4 separate regions of the Homo sapiens genome follow, and all the other regions are linked to region 1. The links are contacts of gene promoters, found by promoter capture Hi-C in blood cells and fetal thymus (Javierre and others, 2016). All regions are on one chromosome and are shown on one strand. Each heading gives the region's core, a stretch centred on a gene start or on the middle of the fragment in contact. The rest is flanking DNA. Distances are from core to core; before and after follow the strand shown.

Region 1 (5,770 bases), core at 1,722-4,221:
ACCTCATCTCAAAAAAAAAAAAAAAAAAAAAAAAAAAGGAGGGGCCTCTAAAGGTTGATTGTTTTTGAGTAACCTCGAGCAAGTTTCTTAATCTCCCCAAATTAATTTCCTCATCTGTAAAGTGAGTATCAATTTTGTATAGAGAAAGATGGAGAATGAGACAGAGACAGAGAGACAAATAAAGACAGTAAGAGGGATTTGGGAGTGTATGGCAGCTCTCAGAACATGAAAGTTCACAATGCCTGGAACAAAATTATCATTCAAATATCTGTTCACTGAATGAAAAATCTGCTTCCTCAGCTGGGTCAGCTCCTAGAAATATGTCTCCTTTGTTTTGGAGATATGGACAGAATGACCCCTAAGGCTCTAGCCCATACAAAAGAGATGCAAGACCACTCACGCCCTAAAATTGTGTCTTGTGTTTGAAAATGTTTGACACAGTGGTCTCTGACTCTCAGGACAGAATACCCTCTGAGTGCACCCCAAAGGCTTTATCTGGATGCGTAGATGGTGCTAGATTCCCAGAATAATAATGAAGGTAACATTCAAGTGTCTCCTCCCCACTCTGATCCCCAAGACTGAAATAAGTAATCTTCCTTTGTGTGTTCACAGCACACTCTACTTTGTACATTTATTGCACGTATTATAGCTGCATGCTCCCTTGTCTGTCTTGCCAAGTAGACTGTGAATTCCATGATCATTTGAGTAAGTGCTATCCCCACTTTCTAACCCATAACAGAGACTCAATATATGTTTTTGATTTTTTAAAAAATCAAACACCTCTTTAAAACATCTACCACCGTTGGCCCTAAAATCAGCCTAAGGTATGGATATTGTCCAGCACCCCCAACCCGGAGATTGCCTCCCCACTTCCAATTCCCCTTGAAATGAAGTAAAAACTGTAGTTCCAGCATTTAGGCCTCTTACATATCCACTCAGGATGTTCCTCATTGTTAATTCACTCAATAAATTTTGTTCAAAAACAGGATCTTATGTACTAGGCCCAATGGCAGGGGTACAGCAATGAATCCGCCATTGTCCCTCTTGGAGAAGCTCACAGAATAAAGTGAGCTTGGATGAAGGCTCTGACTTTCAGAGAGGCCACTAGCCGTTAGCCAAAATATTTCTGGATCAGTATCTACATCCTATCATCAACTTGACTCCTCGACTCTTTAAAATGTGGCTTTAGAACCTGGTACATAGTGTACACTCAATAAACATTTGTTGGATAAGGGAGTGAATGGGATAGGATGAAAATTTCAGTGAGCTTTTATTGCTCACTGATTGATATAGGAGATAAGCAGCTAATGCTATCTAATCCTTTTTTTTTTTTTTTTTTTGAGTCGGAGTCTCACTGTGTGCCATAGGCTGGAGTGCAGTGGCGCTATCTCAACTCACTGCAACCTCCACCTCCTAGGTTCAAGCAATTCTCCTGTCTTAGCCTCCCGAGTAGCTGGGATTACAGGCATGCACCACCACACCCAAATAATTTTGTATTTTTAGCAGGGACAGGGTTTCACCATGTTGGCCATGCTGGTCTTGAACTCCTGACCTCTGGTGATCCGCCCATCTTGGCCTCCAAAAGTGCTGGGATTACAGGTGTGAGCCACTGCACCTGGCCCCAAATCCTTTATTTAAGTAATTTTGGCTTTGGGTACCCACTGAGCTGATACGTCCACCATGGGAATGTATTAACACTTCAAAAGATCTCTAAGGACAGATAATGCTTCTTAGAAACATTTCTTGTGTCTAATTAGGTGAGGCAGGCTTTCCCAATACCACAGCTAAACACGTTGCACTTGCCTTCAGATAACTCTCGGAGACCTTCCATCCTACAAAACACTGATTAACTAACCTTCCAAATCTGCCAGTAACTGGAACACTTCCTGCTTCTGAACTATCTTCGGCTCCAGGGAGTACCCTGCTAGATTCTTTAATCTCTCTTACTGATCATCTAAACGTATTTTCTTTTACACTTGTGTATGGTTTATTTGTACAGTTGTGGGAAGAGAGCTTGTCTTTATAAATTCCCACAGGACTAGGCACACAGCAGGTATTTAATAAGTACGTTTTTAAAAATGTGTCTTCCATGTGTAGCCCTGTCCTGCAGGGACGCATCGGGTAGGTGGCAAAGGGGTGCCCAATCCTAGCGAACTTTCAACTGAGGTTGGGGGAGAAGGGCAGGGACCCTCCCACCATGAGAATCGTAAGGTAGGACTGGAGAAAAAGATCAGAGCACATCTCTCATGTACTCTAGAACTCTCCAGAAACCTCTCACTTTCTTTGTCCCCATCTTCTGCAGGGGACTTACAGCGTTCTCAGGGACTGCAGGAAATAAGACAAATAGGGAAAAGGAAATCACAGAGCACGATTGAAATATGGCAGATGAGATGCTAGACTGGAATCTTCTCTTTCGCTCAAAATAAATGCATACATAAATGACAGTGATTGTAAGCCTGACAGCACTTCACCCACTCTCTAAAGTCTCCTGACAGTGGGACCTCAAGCAGGGGACTGGAAGGTTAATTTGTTCGGTACCAACTCTGACTCAAAAAGATTATTCTCCTGTGAGGTGAAGGAGAAGAAAAAAAGGTCAGTGACATTTTCCAGCCACTACACCCAGAGGGTAACCCAGATGTTGGTGGGATGGGTGGGACTCATCAAACCCACGCTTTCCCCCAAGGTTGCTAAGACAGAGCGTCCTGTTAGTCTTCGGGTTGAATCAACCCCACAACGACCCGTTCTAAGGAGACTGTGACAGCAGGAAAGGTCATGACACACCCAGGTCTGGACACGCTGTCCCTGAGGCCAGTGCCCGGAGCGCCCCCCGCGGAGCCGCTCTCCACCAATAAGAGCCTGAGGTCCCGAGATGATGAGATGCGGGGCCGCTGCTCAGCCAATCAGGCTCCAGGCGCGGCCAGGGGGAGGAGATGGGAGGAGAGGCCGGGGGCGATGGAGACGCGGATACATCAACAGAAGTTTCTCACCTAGGAATGCGAGGGGCGCTCCCGCATCTCCTGCACATCTCCACCCCTGCGCAGGAGGAGATCCCCAGGCTGCTCTCTCCATCTCTCCTACAGCTCCCTGCAAACGAGGGGGAAGCTGCTGAGAGTCCCTATCACTGCTGGCCTTTTAATGTTGTATGCAAGGAGGAAGAGGGCGAGGGATAACTTGGTGCTGGACAACTGACCTGCGGCCCGAAGGGCCTCTGGGGAGGGGGTGCAAAAGAGGAGCGGCTGGGCTGGGGGACTCCATGCGGGGGCGATGGACAGGGCGGCGCTCCTGGGACTGGCCCGCTTGTGCGCGCTGTGGGCAGCCCTGCTCGTGCTGTTCCCCTACGGAGCCCAAGGAAACTGGATGTGAGTATGGAGGTGGCAGGGAAGCATCGGGTAGGTGGCAAAAGGGGTGCCCAATCCTAGGGAACTTTCAACTGAGGCTGGGGGAGAAGGGCGGGGACCCTTAGACGAGTGACCTAATTTTTCGGAAAACATCTGGAATTGGGGAGCGGCTTAACGCTACGGGCGGCCGTGTCTTACAGGTGGTTGGGCATTGCCTCCTTCGGGGTTCCAGAGAAGCTGGGCTGCGCCAATTTGCCGCTGAACAGCCGCCAGAAGGAGCTGTGCAAGAGGAAACCGTACCTGCTGCCGAGCATCCGAGAGGGCGCCCGGCTGGGCATTCAGGAGTGCGGGAGCCAGTTCAGACACGAGAGATGGAACTGCATGATCACCGCCGCCGCCACTACCGCCCCGATGGGCGCCAGCCCCCTCTTTGGCTACGAGCTGAGCAGCGGTGAGTCCTGGGTCCTTAGGGGTTGGTGGGGGACGGAAGGCGACAACTCCTCCACCGGTTCCTGCAAATAAAGTAAATAGTGCTACGTGGTCCTGTAGCTCTCTAAGTTCCAGAAGAAGCCCTTTAGTGCACGGGGATTGAGAGCTACAAAGGCCAGACCTGGGGAGCAGGTGCGAGCCTGGAGGGAGGTGACTCCCCAGTTCCAGAGCGGAGCTCTAGGGGCTGGAGCTCTTCCTCTTTCCTGCGGTGCCCCGCCAGAGTTGGAAAAAAAACTCTAATTCTCCTACCCCGCCGACCCCCTCGGACCCCGTAGCGCCCCCCTACGTGGGTGACCAGCTGGAGAAACATGATGTCGGCAGCGGGGAATGCGGCTGCCGCATCTGCTTTGATTTAACCAACTCCGCTGCGCACCAAACCCCGGACAAGTGGCTAATTGCAGCGAAGCCCCACCTTTATTGGCTCCTAGGAGCACCGAGTTGACAGAATAATGGTGACTTTTAAAGCGACTGTCCGCGACCACCCAACGTGCGGCTAACCTGAGCAGGACCACTTGTGCGCTTCTCGTTTCTTTGGCTTTTCTATCTTTCCCTCCTCGGCGCACTCCCGCGGCGCGGGAAGCTGCAGGAAAACAAAGTTCCACTTCCACGTGCGTAGTGACTTGGTAAGGATAAAGGTACAGGGAGCCAGGATTGTTCCTGGAATATCAACAGATCCAAAGAATGTTAGGACTGGGGCGCTGAAGGATGCGCTGTCGTTTTTCATGTTCATTTCCGTTCCCCCTCCGCCTTTGACCCTTGTCCACGCAGTCCCTGCGCGCACCCCCGCCGAGCCGCGCACCTCCCCCGCGGCGTTCTGGCCGGCACGCCCTTCCGAAGGAGCCCTGGTCCCCGTAGAGAGAAAAAAAAAAAAAAAAAAAAAAGAGACAGAAAGAAAAAAAATAGATGTGTTTTTCACAGTTGCTGAAATGCATCAGCTGTTGAAAAGGTTTATTGGACAGCGGGCATGAAACTGTTTCTACTCCAAACTAAACATCTGGAAAGAAAAAAAAAAAGTCGCCTGCTGATTCCCTTCTAGTCCATGTTATTAATGTTTTAATGGACTTTAATTTTCAAAGATTTTAGCTCAAACTCTACTGCAGGTGTGCTAAATGCATAATTTTCAATATTCAATATTTTTAATAGAATTATGTTTTTGCTAGTGACATTTTAATTATCTTACCTTTCATTGCCTTTAAGACTGTAAGAGGAGTAGCTAATACTATATAAAATGTTTAACTGTTTCATGTTAATGTGAGACTAATCTTTAATGTGAAAATATACGGTACCGTTTACTAATTGCTTTGGTCTTTCCTTAATTTTAATTTTCATTCTGACACGTATTATTTATGCAAACAAAAATCACACCAAAATGTTCAGCTTGTGTTCTGTGAGAGCACATTTTAAATTTCAAAAGAAAAGCAATCTAGTGTTCTTTGGGTGTTGTATTACCGTTTACAGTATCTATGCAAAGAATTTTTAATTCAGCATGTATTACTGAGCTATGACTGTCAACTGTGCACTGAACTGGGTGCAAACATACATTTCAAATTTAAAAAATAAAGAGATGATTTTAAGGTAAAGGGACAATGTATGACCATACAGTATATGACAATCTCTTCAAGTGGAATACTGAAAATTAATGTTGCTTTTTAAGAGACTAGAACAAGAGCAAATCTTCCTTTCTAAATATGTACTCGTTAACGCATCCATTGTAAGCAACTGAAAAATTACTTGTCCAGTAAGATCATGAGTAGGAGGCTTTCTTCTGAACATAAACAGAAGTTGCCTGGTTCTCTAATTTAGCAATTTATATTTTTTCTAGGCACCAAAGAGACAGCATTTATTTATGCTGTGATGGCTGCAGGCCTGGTGCATTCTGTGACCAGGTCATGCAGTGCAGGCAACATGACAGAGTGTTCCTGTGACACCACCTTGCAGAACGG
Region 2 (5,458 bases), core at 2,943-5,442, 470 kb before region 1:
ATAGTCGGGGACGCACGGCGGGGGCTCATCGGGGCAGGGAACTTCTTCGCGGAGAGCCGGAGGGCTGCATTGGCTTCAGCTGGAGACGCTTCTTTCTCTTCCTCTCCCCCCGCCGCCGCCGTCGCCGCCTCCTGGGAAAAAGAAAAAAAAAAAAAAAAGTCCTGGGCAGCAGTTGCTGGAAAGTCTCTGCTAAGCCACCTCCCAGCGCCGCTGTCCCTCCCAAGTCCTCTCCGAGTCCGGACGAGGCAGCGGCGGCAGCCAGGGCCAGCTGCACAAACTCTCAGCGCATGCTCGAGCCGCTGGCTGCCGGGGTTGGGTCCTAGTGGGTGTTTCTTGTCCCTCTCACCCAGCGAGAGTCCCCAAAGGGACGCTTCACCTCTGCAGGATAGGGTCCAGAAGATAATGCCTAGGAACTTGGGAGAAGTCCGTGCAGTAAATCCCTTTAAAATGGTGGCGTCGAAGGAATGGAGGCTGGGTTATAAGCATAGAGAAGCAGGCTTTTATTATATGATAATATTTGTGTTTGAGAAGGGGGGTGAAGGGGTGGCCCAACCCAATTCCTGCAATGAGAAACTAGTTTTCACAACCTTTATGGAGCCACCTCCTGTGATTTGTTATTAACATGGTGCCCTATGATCCTTCTTATTGCTTTGTTGCCCTCCCGGATTTTTTTTTTTTTAAGTTCTTTCCCACTTTCATAGTGCACTAATAGCATTTACGGAAACATCAGAGTAATCATGTGCAGTCTGACATGCAGAAGAGGAGGAAAGAACATTTTTAACTCTTAGAAGTAACTCAAGCTTTCCAAAATTTCTCACGATAAGATTGTTTTGAGTTAACTGGGTGATTTATTTTGAAATGTGTACATAGTAGTGGATCTTTGGAAAATCTAATTTTTTTAAACTAGAAATTCATGAAGTATTACACAGCAGGAGACCATCCTTCCAAAAGAATCTTCCCTTTTAGAAGACAGAAGTTTCACACTAAATAAAATGCCACTGGATCATATCCTCCACATAAAATGTGGATGTGTTGTGCTATGCCTCACAGTACTGCTCATTTCTAGGATTACTTTTGTGGGCACTGCATGGCAAATAAAACTTCACCAGCAAATATGAATTACCTGGAATACGAGCAACATCTTTGACCTAATAACTGGAGTCCTTGGATTTCCTTGCAGAAAAAAAAAAAAAAAAAAAAATGGAATCCTATGTCCATGACTGCCTGTCTAGAGTTAGTTGCTGCATGACTGGAGTGACAATAAGACATGCAGTCTCATATGGAAAAGTCAAGACCAAAAGACAACATGGTTGTCCTGGGTTAGGCTAGGAAAATTATTGGTAAGCAAGTCACTAAGCAGTATGTAAGACAGCAACCCAAAAGAGTATAAAGAAGTATAGCCATACACAAAAAAAACACCAAGAAACATGTCCAGTTATCCATCAGATGACTCCAACTCTGATAATGAAGCAGCTTCTAGAATACTGGGGAAGAGCAAAGAAACCCACTTTTATCCTCTGCCAGTTTCTTCTCAAATTAGGGTGCATGCCTATTTTAAGCAAAGGACTGCTGAAACAACCAGCCATCCAAATGCTGTTGGTGCCATACATTCCCCGGAGAGGTATAAACATCCCCGCATTGAAAGGAGTCCATGACTGCTATTAAAACTGAGAAAAAGAGTGCCAACAATTCCCATGTGTCAAAGCAGAGATCCTCTTCTACTCCTAGAAGGTAGTTAAGTGCCCTTTCCTTAATTCGTATACCTTTAAGGGTCAACTGCCTTAAAGTAATAAAATACTAGAGGAAGTTACTTTAGAAGTATGCATGTCCTCTTCTTCCTGGTAAACAAGAAATACAGATCCAAGATAAAGTAGTTGCTCAACGTCACATCTGTAGTCCAACCTAGATTCCAAAGTAAAATCCAGAATAATGGCTCTTAGTACTCTAGTTTAATGGTTCTCGAAATTGTTGTACACGAGAATCACTTGGAGAGCTTTGAAACAACCCTAATTCTCTGGCATGCCTGATACCACTTAAATCGGAGTCTCTGCAGGTGAGGCCTAGACACACAGGGTTTTCCAAGCTCCCAAGGTAATTCTAGTTTGCAGCAAAATTTGAAAACCCTGCAACGAGGGCTTTACAGCTGCCTAAAAACTAGCAAAAGGGTCTCTTTAGATTTCGTTGGATCAAATCCCTCTCCTGTGAGTCGATAAATTGGGATTATTATCCCCATTTTACAAGTTAAGAAGAAAACAGAGCTGTAGTTACTGCTCTAATATTCCTGATAAATGGTCATCAGAGACAGTGAATCAACATTTCAGTAGAGGAGACCTCACCACATTTGAGACATTGCAGTAATGGGCAGTTTTTATTGCTTAAACTTGACCATACCACCTTTTAACTTCTACCCTTCAACCTTAGTTCCGCCCTTGGAGTCCATGGCATGAGCAAGCCTTCCTCCCATATGACAGCCCTTCAACTACTTGAAGGCAGCTGTTCTTCCCTCCCTCTCCAATTCTTCTCTTTCCCAGAATTGTGGAAGCACAGTAAGACTTCACATCGCAGCTGTCATTCTGAGGGTTCTATATTTTTCTCTGTGAGATCTGTTTTTTTGTGTGTGTGAACAAAAGGAGGATAGAAATATCATAATATGCACATAAAAATTTGAATATGTAATAACATATTAGGAAAATTGTATGGTCTATTTACTACCCATTAGTCAGGAACCCAATTCTGTGGCCAGGTGTTCTCCAATAAGTATCATTTCAGTGGTGGTATCTACTGTGCCTCATGCTGAAGATACTAAGACAAGTTCTTACCCTCCAAGAAAAGGCAAAACTATCCTTTCTTATTATATAATAATAATAACAATAATAATGACATCAAAAAGTAATAAAATAAGCATTTACAAGGAATCACATACATGTCAGTCCCAGTGTCAGGAGTAAAACTCAGCTATATGTAAGAGAATACAAGTTCCTCACTCCGTATGGCAGCTTGTTTGTTCATATCTTATTCTATTCATTCTGCTAAAGTTGTGGAGAGAAAAAGGATAACACAGGAGTTTGGATGTATGAGTTGCTATTCCTTCTTAGTACAAGACCCTCACAAGTACTCCTAAGCCAGTACTTTACAATTAATATGGGATAGACACCTAATGTGTTTTGAACAAATTACATGTGTCTGACATAATAGGTGCTTCTCACAATTTATCTTATTAATTCCTCATAACTATATGTTGAGATACTTGAAATCAATTCAGATAGCTGATTTTTGCCAGACCCACACAGGTAGTAAATAAAGAAGCTGAGATTCTAAGATCTGTCTGATTCTTTCCACTGTTTATCTGCATTACAATAAAATTTCAAATCTGGTTGGACAAGACTTAAGAGGAAAATTTTCGAACTTTTTAAAGTTAGTTTTCGAGAATATGAAGCTGAAATTCAAATATGTGTACTTAAACTATGACTGGTAAATCTACTTTCACCTCACTTCTAAAAGAGTATACAGACCTAATAAGACCTGAGAAAATCCTTTCATTACTGAATTAAGTAGACTGCTTTCTACTGTAAGCTTAGGATTGCCAGATAAAATACAAGACACCTCATTAGATTTAAATTTCAGATAAACAACAATTTTTTATTTTTTGGTATAGGCATGTCCCAAATGTTGCATGGGACAAATATTGCACTGGACATACATATACTAAAAAATTATTCAATGTCTACCTGAAATTCAAATTGAATTGCAAACCCTACATTTGTATTAGTTGAATCTGGCCTCCCTATGCAAACTAGCAAATGCACTCAAAGAGCCACAAAAACAAATATGTTTCACATAACAATGAGTCCAGGAATAGCGATTCATCTGCCCAGTAGTGATATCAAGGAATCAGTTCTTTTTCCTCCTTACTCTCCTGACACACACAATGAGTAATCATACTATACTCAGGTACCTCCTCTTATGGTCACAAGATGGCTGTGCAAATTCAAGCATCATTTTCAGTTACCATTACTTCCAAAGGAAGAAGGTATTTTCTCCTATGAGTTTCTCTTAGGATCTAGCAAACCTCTCCCAGGAGTTCTGCAGCAGATTATCCCTTTGATTGATTGGCTAGAACCTGGTCACATACTCATATATCTACCAATTATTCACAAGAACTATGGTTCTACCATAACTGGTTTGTTTTGTTTTGTTTTGTTTTGTTTTGTTTTGTTTTGTTTGAGACAGAGTCTCACTCTGTCACCCAGGCTTGAGTGTAGTGGCTCCATCTCTGCTCACTTAACCTCTGCCTCCCGAGTTCAAGTGATTCTCATGCCTTAGCCTCTCGAGAAGCTGGGACTACAGGTATGCACCACCACGTCGTGCTAATTTTGTCTTTGTAGAGACAGAGTTTCACCATGTTGCCCAGGCTGGTCTCAAACTCCTGTCCTAAGGTGATCCACCCACCTCAGCCTCCCAAAGTGCTAGGATTACAGGTGTGAGCCACCATGACTGGCCAGGTTTTAAACCAATCAAGATGTATTACCTGTGCCTGGGACAGCCCTTCTCTAAAGCACAGGGCCAAAGAGAGGAAGGTAGATAACTGAACACAGTCAGATTTTTATTTGAACTGAGGGATAGAGAAAGGAAGGCATAGTACCATCCTCTCTCCTGTTCACTGCTAGGACAACCCAGCTCTCAGCCAACCATTTTGGGGCACTACTTAGCAAAGTTTCTTAGTTATTGAAAGAACCACTGAAGCAGGAACCTCATGGCAATAGCAAAGGACCCTGAGAAAACTCGTATCACATCATTTCCATCCCATGCCATAAGCTTACTTTCAGCATCGTCATTTGCATTTACACACCAGGTAATTCTTTAAAGAAGTGCCCAAATCAGTACCCTCCTATGAAATCCTAGAAAACTTTTCTCTTAAACTTTATTGAAACCTGACCTTCATGCAAAGTTTAGAAATTTGGACTCACTTCACCCACAGATTTAATAAATATTTATTGAATTGTTACTACAAACTCAGAACTGTGCTAGGAGATACCAAGAGTTCTACCATAATTTTGGCTCTCAAAAATTTATAACTTCATTAGCATGCTTCCTCTTCAGAAAGCAAAATTTATAGAATATAAGAGATCTTTTGTCCAGACTTGGTGGCTCATGTCTGAAACCCCAGCTCTTTGGGAGGCTGGGCCAGGAGTTGGAGACCAGCCTGGGAAACATAGCAAATCCCATCTCTACAAAACATAAAAACAATTATCCAGATGCTGTGTGCCCACCTGTAGTCCCAGCTACTCAAGAGTCTGAGATGGGAGGAGCTCTTCAGCCCAGCAAGTCGAGGCTGCAGTGAGTCATTATTGCATTGCTGCACTCCAGCCTTAGCAACAGAGCAAGACCCTCTCTCTCTCTCTCTCTCTCTCAAACAGCAACAACAACAACAATAACAAAGAACTCTTCTCTTAATTTT
Region 3 (5,365 bases), core at 992-3,491, 260 kb after region 1:
GATCTAATTAAACTAAAGAGCTTCTGCACAGCAAAGGAAACTACCATCAGAGTGAATAGGCAACCTACAGAATGGGAGAAAAGTTTTGCAATCCACTCATCTGATAAAGGGCTAATATCCAGAATCTACAATGAACTCAAACAAATTTACAAGAAAACCCTGTGCTTTTCACCATGGAACTGGAAGACCCACTCGGGGGCGCCTCTTTGTCTCTGTGGGAGAGAGCTATTCTCTTTCTTTCGCCTATTAAACCTCTGCTCTTAATCTCACTTCTTGTGCGTCTGTGTCTCAATTCCCTTGGCATGAGATGACAAACCTCGGGTATTTACCCTAGACAACGACGCCACTTCATTTGTTGTCATATTGGTATTTTCTTTCCCTTAAAAAAGTACAGATTTTTATGTGGGAACAGCCTAAGGACATTTCCCTCTAGCCCTTGTGGCCACATGAGAGCCAGAGTCCCTGCTCTCTGACTGCCAGTGACAGGCCAAAACCTCACAATTCATTGGAGTTCACTGGCTGCTCATTGAATAGAGAATACCCGTGGTGGATTGCTCCCAACAGCAATCATGGTGGGTTGCTAATTTAAATCAAGCCATCAGTGTGGCAGATTTTAAAGCTCCAGATTATAAACACTTGCAGAGTTATAAACTCCAAACCACTGGCCCTGGAGTCAGAGATCAAGCTTCAACTTCTGTCTCCACTGTAAGGTGCATTTGTGCAGACTGGAGACAATTTCTTTACAAAGGAGCCAATAGATGCCTCCCATATATTAAGTAAGGTACTAGGCCCAACATGTTTTGCAATATGGTAGTGTTACAGAAGCCTTGGCTAAATATTAAGAATTATTATTGTAATTCTGGCTTCTTTTAATCCCACATTTACCTGTTTCTCATGTTTCTAGGCTCTTAGTTACTTCTTCCTCTTCTTCCTTTTCCTTTCTCTTTCTTACTTCTATTTGGGGAGGAGGAGTCAATGGCCTTTTCATTTACATAGGTTTTTCTTTCTAGGCCAGAGACTTCATTTTAATCATCTGTATAGACAGTTTAAATGACCTGCAAATAATAACCTAGAAAACTTTTCCCCTGCCATACCCAGGATTAATTTTCCTTCCTATCTAACTTAATGCTAAAGCTATAAAATGGGAAAGAACATGGTTGAGTGACAGAATATTGGATTAATAGAATTCCTTAAAGCTTCAAATCCCTCATTTCACACACAGCAATGTTTCTCATTTTGTCTTACTTTTTGTTGGTTCATTTCTGAGTGCATGGGGATGTTTAAAAACTACTTCTTTATGTGATAGTTGCTTTGGACAGTCACTTCTAAGCCTCGATTGACACTGGAATAGTCTGTATATTACCATCTTGAAGACATGCAGCACTAGAATTTCTTTGGATCCTGGGAAGATTCAACTTCTCTCTTGACTTTTCTCTCCTCTCATAGATAGTTTATCATTTCATATAGATTCGACATTTCTCTTGATTCCCAAATGTGCATATTATTTTGGGTTTCACTACCTAGTAACAGGTGGAGGATGAAAAAATAGCATCTGGATGGATTTTTGCTGTTGTAGATTTGGTGGATAGAAGGAAGAAGTTGAACCATACAAATGTAAACCAAAAATAAAATTTTAAGGTCCTTCAACCATCTGAATAGATCCCTCCTCTTGGCCAAAGGCATTCTAAAGTTAACCTGAAAAAACTAGCTCAAGCCATGATGGGAAAGAGGACTTGGACATGCCTCATTATATCCTCCTCCCCTTTGGAAGTACTAATAGACCAGCCTCTTTAAGTCTGATAAGAAACATTTATAATCTATTATCTTTGAAGCCTGCTACCTGTAGGCTTCATCTGCTGTATAAGACATTGGTCTTCACAATCCCTTATTGTAAGCCAGACATTCCTTTCTATTGATAATAACTCTTTCAGCCAATTGCCAATCAGAAAATTTAAAAATCTACCTGTGACCCAGAAGCCACCCCCTGGTCCCCCACCCCACTTCGAGTTGTCCTACCTTTATGGAGTGAACCAATGTACATGATACATGTATTGATTGGTGTCTCATGTCTCCCTAAAATGTATAAAACCCCAACCACCTTGGGCACAGATCAGGACTTTGTGAGTCTGTGTTACAGGCATATCCTTAACCTTGGCAAAATAAACTTTCCAAATTGTTTAAGGCCTATCTCAGATACTTTTGGTTTACATACCTTAAGAGGATTCAGCAACAGATATTATCTCAGAGGTGCAAGCAAGTACATAGCTCATCGACCTTCCTGAATGCAAATTGGTTTCTACAATCATTTTGTCAGGTATTTTACTCCATGGTGTTAAAGTAGAATTTCCCATAAAACAAAAATAGAACTGCTAGTATTTATAAGCACTTTGAAATAATAATAACTTACATATTTTGTAAGGGAATAGGAATATATACAAGGAGGTAAGGGAATCATGTTGTTTGAATTGATGGATGAATGTAAATATTTTATCACTTTGATGGGTAGATATCAGACAGAGAAATTGTAGATAGATGGAGCAATCTCTATAATGTTTTCTGCATTAACTCAAGGGTGCTGTGCCTCCTTTAGCCTATGGTTTCAGTTTAAATTCTATGTTTGGAAGAAAATAGTGAATATAGCAAATGCAAATTAAATTGATAATGATAAGCATTAAAAAACCCCTCTCATCCTCAGTATGTTATTCAATAATCAGATAGTCTTGCATTAACCGACTTGAAGTTTTTGCAACTATTTCTCATCTGCCAAACTAGTCACAGCAAGAAAACTCATCAACATTCAAGGATTGGATTCCTGTCCCTTGTATTGCATCTTCCCACTATCTAATTCAAAAATTCAAGTTGAATCTTCTTACTGTTTAGTTAAAGTCTGTTTAGTCAAGCTGGCATGTGAAAAAGTGAAGATTTCTATGGTGTTTTGAAAACTGGATTTATGGTAAAATCATTTGTTTTATTTACTCAATCCCCAGAAAAGAAAGTCTAGAAAAAATTCCCTCTGTAGCAGTAGAATTTACTCAAGTTATAAAGCAGTGAGATTAATTATAAGGACATCAGTCCATAGGTTCATTATCACAAGGTTAGTTAATTAATTAATCAATTAGTTAATTGAATTAATTAACTATTTCCTCTCATAGTGAATTTTTTCCTCTCATAGATAATTTATCATTTCATATAGGCATTTTTTCCTCTCATAGATAGTTTATCATTTCATATAGGCAAATACAATGTTCTATAACAAATATTCTACCAAAATAAAATTTTTAATAAAGAAGCTTTGAGGTAGCACAACCTTAAGTTTAAGAGGTAAATCATATGAACAAAACTAAAATGCTTTTGTAGTTAGAAAAATTTTGATGGCTTCTTTGTTACAAACACAAAGCAAGGCAAGGTCAAGTTCAAGGCTCGACTCATTGGCTGGGTAAAGATACAAGGAGCCACTCTTAGATTTAGACAGTTTGTAACTTACATAAACAGTGAAGAGGAGAGTATGCCAAAATTGCCAGCTCCCTGTGATCCTTGTTTTACACACCAGAAAACCAAAAACAAACAATAAAACCCCAACACCACCCAAATCAAAGGGGCTGGATGGCTGCACTGTGAGTCGTGAGGCACCCATAGTTGAGGAGCCAATTCTAGACCACAGAGAAGTGGCCTTATATTCTGCAGCTTCATTCTGAGACGGTGGAACAGAAGGCCCCATACTTCCTCCAAGTCTAGGAGTTGATGAGAAACTCTTGTCATTAGAGTCTCCCAGAGGAGATAGGGAGGTGAGTAGGAGGTGGCTTCAGACCCTCCATCCTCTCTTATTACATGAGGATCACAAGGTGTTCTGCCCAGACACAGGTAAGCTGCAGTTCAAGTGTTCATCTAGATGGATGTGTACAAGACTGCCAGGGTGTCATGGCAAAGTTATCTCCTTGCATCCTTCTTCATAAACAAGCTACATAGAAACTCTGTTCAGGATGACATGATATTCCAGTTTAATAAATTTTAATAAAACTGGAATTTAGACCTGCCTCCGGGTGCTTTTTATGTTGTTTATAACTTTATGGTAACTAATATATAAATATTGCCTCTTTTTTATCCTTACTACAGCTTCGTGACCAGCTTAGTACTTTGAATTCTCATATTTCAAGTTTTCTCATTAACTATCATTATGTTTGTGATCTATGCTTTTTAAAATTTTTAACCAAGTTTGAATTACAGTAAAAATAAGCTTGTAGTATTTATTTCCACACATGCTACCCCAGGTCAGACTTCTCACTAGGGATATTCAAATGAGAAACAGAGTTAAAAACATAAATAAATAAATAAATAAATAAATAAATAAATAAATAAATGTAAAACCAAGTTTCAAGTTTCAATATCATCAGTGGTTTACAGAATCAAGCCAATCTTTTCTTTCCCTCTGGAAATTATTTGATCCAAATCTTGATACAATGAGATAATTAACTGGTAGACTAATTTACATTTGAAGGTGTTGACCCTATCTTTTGGGCACAGGACAACTTAACAAAAGAAGAATGTGTATTCCTTAGCTGGTCAGAGATGTAGTAACCAGTATTAAGGGGGCATTTTTCAACAACTACCATAATTTAGCCAAGGACATGCTAGAATACCATATTCCTTGTGTTATATTTTTTAAAACGTTGACAGTCGTTTTAATGCTTTTTTAGAGGCAATATTTCTGATAGATATTGAGATCGCAATGCTTTTCTAATGTTAATTTGTTACTTTCCTTTGCTAAAATGTATACAATTCTGAAAGAAAACACATTTTGGATAGCTATTATTATGACACATTTGATCAAACATATAATGGCACCTGCCTGTGGGCTCCTGTCTTAGTTGGCTTGGGCTGCCAAAGTAAATACCGAAGACTGGGTGGCACGAACAACAGAAGTTTATTTTCTCACAATTCTAAAGTCCTAGATCAGGGTGCCAACACCATCTGTTTCTGGCGAGGGCTCTCTTCATTGCTGGTAGATGGCAGCCATCTCACTGTGTGTTCATGTGACTTCTTTATGGAGGGAGAAAGGGAGAGAGAGTGAGCAAGCTTTCTAGTGTCTCTCCTCACAAGGGCTGAGCAAGCTTTCTAGTGTCTCTCCTCATAAGGGCACAAATCTCATCATAGGGCCCCACCCTCATGACCTCATGGAAACCTAAGCACCTCCCAAAGGCCCCATATCTAAATACCATCACATTGGGGTTAGGGCTTTAATGTATAAATGTGGGGGACACAAGCATTCAGTTCATAACAGCCCCATATCTCACTTTGATATAACTGCCAGAACTCCGTTTTTAATGAGGTAGAGTGAGGAGAGCCAAACTAATTATACTTCACATTT
Region 4 (5,300 bases), core at 1,618-4,117, 370 kb before region 1:
TAAGGGGTGTCTACTGAAAAACATTGAAGTAAGTCATGCAGAGTTACTTACTGATTTCTTAGAGGGTATAGGAAGAGTTTTGAACAGAGTTTGTTTAGAAAGTCAAGGTCCTGAATTAGGTATTGTATTGAGGGGAAAGCATTTCACTCAGAGATAATGGCATAAACAGAAGGAAAGTACAAATTCAGAAATTAATTGAGAAGGGATAGATTCCAAGGCTAAAGAGTGAAGTAATAAAGGCGAGGTAGTAAATTTAATAAAGCATAAGAAATACAACAGAAAGCAAGTGTCCATAATGGATCCATGCAGATGTGAGTTCAAACCCTAGCTCAGCCATTTCACTGACACCATGACTTTGGAAAAGTTATTTAATCTTGAACCACAGTTTCCTGCTGTAAAAAAGCAATATTAATTTATACCTTACTGAAGGGTTTGCATTAGAATACATACAATGCTATTAGTTTGGCAGATAGTAGGATTTGCTCCTTCTTTAAGAACTCAGTCCATCTCATTTCCTGAACTGGAATTTTCTATTTTCCTGAAGCCACTGCTTCCCTTTCAACTCTGCCAAGTGGAAGCTGCTGTCTCTCACTCTCCTAGTATCTCTGAGGCTTCTTTTTGTCTTTTCTTCTTTTTCTTCCCCCACCCTTTCTTTTCTGCCCCCACCTTTGCTCTACCCTCTTCCTTTTTATTATTTTTTTTCTTTTTCCCTTTCTCCTTCCCTGCCTTTCTTTTTAAATACTTTAATCCTATTTCAGGTGAACATTATATCCTTAATATAAAAAATCCCTTCTCTTTCAGACTTAGTGATAATCATCTCAGTTACCCTCTGCCTCTTATCACTATAATTTAATGGCTTCTAGGTGAGGCTCAGATTGAAAAACTGGTACCCGGTTCACAGTTCTCTGTTGCAATCATCTTATACTACCTAGTCATCTACTTCTTTGGCTTTTGTAAATGCTAATCCACTTCAGTCGCCACAGACTGAACCTGATCATCACTTGGAATTGCCCTGCCTCTGATACTTCTTGCGTCTACACTTCCTCCTATTTTATCAGCCCTTTCCTATTCAATCAAGAGACTGGTTGAGCTCTTGACCACTTTTCTTACAGGTACCTTCCACATTGTTGCTGCCTTAGGGCATGTTTTTACTTGCTGCATCTTTGCTTCATCACTTATGCCTTCTCTTTTTCATCTTTAGCCTCTTTTCTTTCTATTGGCTTCTATACCACAGCATTTAAACATGCTCAGGTCTTCCTCATATTTAAAAAGAACTCAGGCAATCTAATATAAATCGTGTCGTGACCGTGACTCTGCTTTAGCTAGTGTAGTCTTCCTTAATTTCTCATTCAGACTCTTTGACACTCCCTTACCTTCAATTTATTCCTAAATTTATGGCAATTGGGGTTCTATTTACTAATCCTCTATAACTTCATTTAATGAATTCTTTATTGCTAAATTCATCAGACAGCTTCAATTCTTTTTAACTGACCCTATTGGTAAATTTAATGCTTATTGCCATTCGTTTTGTCTTGCCATTCTTGACCTTGTATTACCATGTGACTGCCTGCTCTAGATGCTCCCACCTTTGTGACCTTTCTTAGTCTCCTTCTTGGGTACAGCTCATAATGATGGTGTTCCTCAGGGTTCTGTCCTTGACCTACATGGTTTCTTACTCTTCAAGTGGTTCTCACATGAAGGTGATTGTCTTCCCCTCTTCTACCTGCCAAGAGGGCCAGGAAGAACAAATTCCACAGCGTAAAGACCTGTTCTTTCAAATGCAAGTTTTATCCCCAACCTTTGCACACCACCCAAGTTGAGAGACACTCCTCTATTGCAATTCCATGTGTTCTCTTAGTGTTAACAATTATACGTTAATTATTCCTGAAGCCCAAGCTGTTTCTTTGAGTCTTTTAATCTTAGCTGACTATTCCCAGGCCCTAGAACTCAGTGTTTTGAAATTTAAAACTCAAAGCATCTCCTTTTTCTTCTCTAACTACCCTCCCCTGCCCCATCACCAACTTTTTGTTTCTAAATCTCACATGAACCACACTGACCTTGTAGTCATTCAGATTAGGGCACTGAAAGTCACCCTATACTCCTTGTCACTTCCTCACATTTTTTTTTTTTTTTTTTTTTTTTTTTTTTTTTGAGACGGAGTCTCACTCTTTCGCCCAAGCTGGACTGCAGTGGCGCTATCCCGGCTCACTGCAAGCTCCGCCTCTTGGGTTCATGCCATTCTCCTGCCTCAGCCTCCCGAGTAGCTGGGATTACAGGCGCCCACCACCACGCCCGGCTAATTTTTTGTATTTTTAGTAGAGACGGGGTTTCACCGTGTTAGCCAGGATGGTCTCGAACTCCTGACCTCGTGATCCGCCCGCCTCGGCCTCCCAAAGTGCTGGGATTACAGGCGTGAGCCACCACACCTGGCCTGGCAAACTATTAAATAAAGACTATTTTAGATTTCGATAAGTACACAGGAGGAAATAAACATTGTAGAAAGAGAGGAAGGGGGAGAAAGGGAGAGACAATTGAATAACTGGCGAAGGCTGTTAAGAATGTAGTCTAAGGAGATGACGTTTGAGGTGGTACTTGGAAAATAAGAAAGAACCACCTGTTGGAAAAGCTAAGGAAAGAATGTTTCAGGCACGTGGTATACCAAGGGCAAAGTTTGGAGTGGAAAAGACTTGGCAAGTTGAACCAAGAGAGAGGCCGGGGTGGTTGGTCTGTGGTCTGTAATGGGAAAGGAGCAGCATGAAAGGAAGCAGGCAGGAGCTAATGCATGGGGGCCTTGCGAGCCAGTCTAGGAGGAGAGTGATTCTTAGTCTAAAGCGGTGGGAAGCCAGTGAAGGACTTTAAACAGAGGCGTGGAATATAGACCTTAAAAGAGATTTTGTGTAGGTATGCCTTTGCTTAAACATTATATTATAGGAATTTTAAATAAGCATGTATTACTTTTACAGAATTTATGGTACATCACCATAGTATGCAATTATGTTTGATTTTATCCCTCAGTGTTTTATATGGCGTTGCATTTTGTTGTATTTTTTCATTGAAATATTTTATTTACTTTTAAACCAGTAGTAAACATTTTTTTTCCTGTGACCATCACTGCACTGGTCACCTCATTTATTAAGGAATAAACCAAACTACATATTATCAACATATTATCAATGAAGAAATTTGTTTTAGGGTTCCGGTAGAAGAAACTGACAGTTTATTTTAGTAGCCGTTTTAGTGAAATTTGACTAACACACACAAAAATCTATCCTGTTAAAATAGTTTTGTTCTAGAAGCATGATACTCATAAATAGTTGTTAAATACTTATTTGTGTTTCTCAGCCAGATGTCACTGTCATAAGGATGTATTGGATTGCAATACCTAATAAAGTTGATTTATACATACCCTGATAAAATTTGAGCTTTTAGTTAATGCTTGAATGATTTTAGCAGTCTCTTGCAGTGCTCAATACCCTTGAACTTGCTTCTTTTTTTATATCCTGGCCTGTTCCTGAGATGGTTATATTTCAGATGCACATTTTACCTATAAATTTGAGAGTTTTCATCTGATACTCTAATTAAGGAAATATGTGAGTTTGACCTTTTGATTTCTGTCCTGTCCTTATTGTCTTTCAGGAAGATGATTAGACAGAGTTATATGCTAAGGCCTCTCAAGTATTTGTTTCAGCATAACAATAGGTCACATTTTCATCTAGTTTAAATCTAATTTAGAGATATAAAGAATCATTTTCATGACCTGTTATCTGAGAAATACTTTGCTATCATGGTTTCTTCTTCTTCCCCAATTTACCCTCTTTACTCGCTATTACTAGACCTTTTCATGGTTAGAAATTTAACTTACTGCTGTCTATTTCAACTTAGAATGTAACAGACTTGATTGCCTCTTCCGATAGGGCAAGCTAGACATCTAAATTTTATAAATTGATTGTATTGGAAGCAGTAGATCATGTAGAGACTTTAAAAAAGCTGTATTTAGTTTTGTTTGGGTCCATTAGTGATACACTTTAAATGTGAATATTAGAAAACCAGAGAGTCAAAAAAGAAAGAGTCAAAGATTACAACTCTATGCAAATATTATAGGATGAAGGATTTTTTGTTTGTTTTGTGCAGAGGGGCCAAGTATGACTTAAATTTGCTATGATCATGAGTGTGTTAACAAGTAATGTTGGTAGAATATCCTTTGTCTTTAAAGAGGCTAGAAAAATTATAGGAGTTTAAACTTAAAGCTGTTATGATTTGGGGTTGTAGAATATGATTTGGGATTATAGGGCAAGGAAACTTTGTTTATAGCACTTGTTGACATTAACTGGGAAAAAAAGAAATAATTAGACTCTGTGGTTAGCCCTGTTTTAGGAATCTGTGGCTAATGGAAAATCTCTCAATTGGATCAGTACCCTCTTTACTATTGTAAATCAGTCTTATGAAAGCAGATGTTTGTGGAAGGGTGAGGTAACTTACATCCTTGCTTTGCTTGATGCCTGTGGGGACAACATGGTGATCAGCTAGAAGAGGTGCTGTAACCGTTCAGAATCATGTAGGTTGAGGGAATGCACATGATGGATTTCAGGCAAGTTCACAGCTCTTATTATGGCTGTTTAATATTGTTTAAATATCCTAGTGCTTTATAGCTTAAGTTAATTCTTGTGGTCAATGGGACTTTCCAACTTCTAATTTGATTTAGTACAGCAGTAGTAAATAGAAGAAAAATAATGCTCATTGCCTAATAATTGCTTATAATATTAATCAGGTCATAATCTCTTTTACATATGAGGAAGTAAGAATGATTGGAAGCCGTCTTATAAAGATGCCTACCACAAGTGGTTAAGGCTTTTCTGTCTTTGTTTATTTTAACTATGAATTTGGTTTTTAGAGTTATTAACCCTTTAGGTTCTAGTGCCTTTTCTGAGCTATCTAGTATTGAAAGTCTTGTCATTATTTTTAACATTTTCATATGTAGTGAACTTTATCAATAATATATTTAATAAAATGAAACAATCCTTAAATGCAGAGGTGAAGTGAGTTAGGGCAAGGTGTATGGTATGAAAAAGAAAGGTCTTTATCTCACCCTAACACTACCCCCTCAACCTAACATTCTTGCTCACTGTGCTTTATATACATATTACACGCTACATCATACTTTGTTTTTCTCTAAGCATACTGTTTGTCTTTCTGTCTCTACATTTTTTATTGTGATTCCTTTTTTCCTTCTATTTGAATACAATCCATCTTCACCGTCTTAATTCGTACCTCCTTCGTGTCTACCAGTGTTACTTTTTTAT

What was found. The method cuts DNA at HindIII sites, captures the fragments that hold promoters and counts their contacts. A CHiCAGO score of 5 or more calls a contact.
Region 2: a fragment that was not itself captured here is called in contact with the fragment with the promoter of WNT16 in region 1 in 2 of 17 cell types (naive B cells and total B cells); the score reaches 5.1 in naive B cells.
Region 3: a fragment that was not itself captured here is called in contact with the fragment with the promoter of WNT16 in region 1 in 5 of 17 cell types (naive CD4 T cells, naive CD8 T cells, total CD8 T cells and 2 more); the score reaches 7.9 in naive CD4 T cells.
Region 4: a fragment that was not itself captured here is called in contact with the fragment with the promoter of WNT16 in region 1 in 2 of 17 cell types (naive B cells and total B cells); the score reaches 8.9 in naive B cells.

What each region holds. Positions count from the first base shown.
Region 1 is chr7:121,326,029-121,331,798 of GRCh38, forward strand. WNT16 (Wnt family member 16) reads left to right here and starts at 2,972. Exons shown (of 4, transcript NM_057168.2): 1 at 2,972-3,359; 2 at 3,539-3,789; 3 at 5,650-5,770. The coding sequence starts at 3,265. The HindIII fragment of the contact is 8,913 bases long and covers 1-5,770 here.
Region 2 is chr7:120,857,858-120,863,315 of GRCh38, forward strand. The region is part of intron 1 of LOC124901733 (a long non-coding RNA gene); the gene reads left to right. TSPAN12 (tetraspanin 12) reads right to left here and starts at 287. Exons shown (of 8, transcript NM_012338.4): 1 at 1-287. The HindIII fragment of the contact is 1,242 bases long and covers 3,572-4,813 here.
Region 3 is chr7:121,587,183-121,592,547 of GRCh38, forward strand. No RefSeq gene overlaps it. Among named protein-coding and RNA genes, the nearest start is that of FAM3C, 190 kb to the left of the region's middle. The HindIII fragment of the contact is 2,094 bases long and covers 1,195-3,288 here.
Region 4 is chr7:120,957,513-120,962,812 of GRCh38, forward strand. All of the region lies in intron 4 of ING3 (inhibitor of growth family member 3), which reads left to right. Among named protein-coding and RNA genes, the nearest start is that of ING3, 9.4 kb to the left of the region's middle. The HindIII fragment of the contact is 9,620 bases long and covers 1-5,300 here.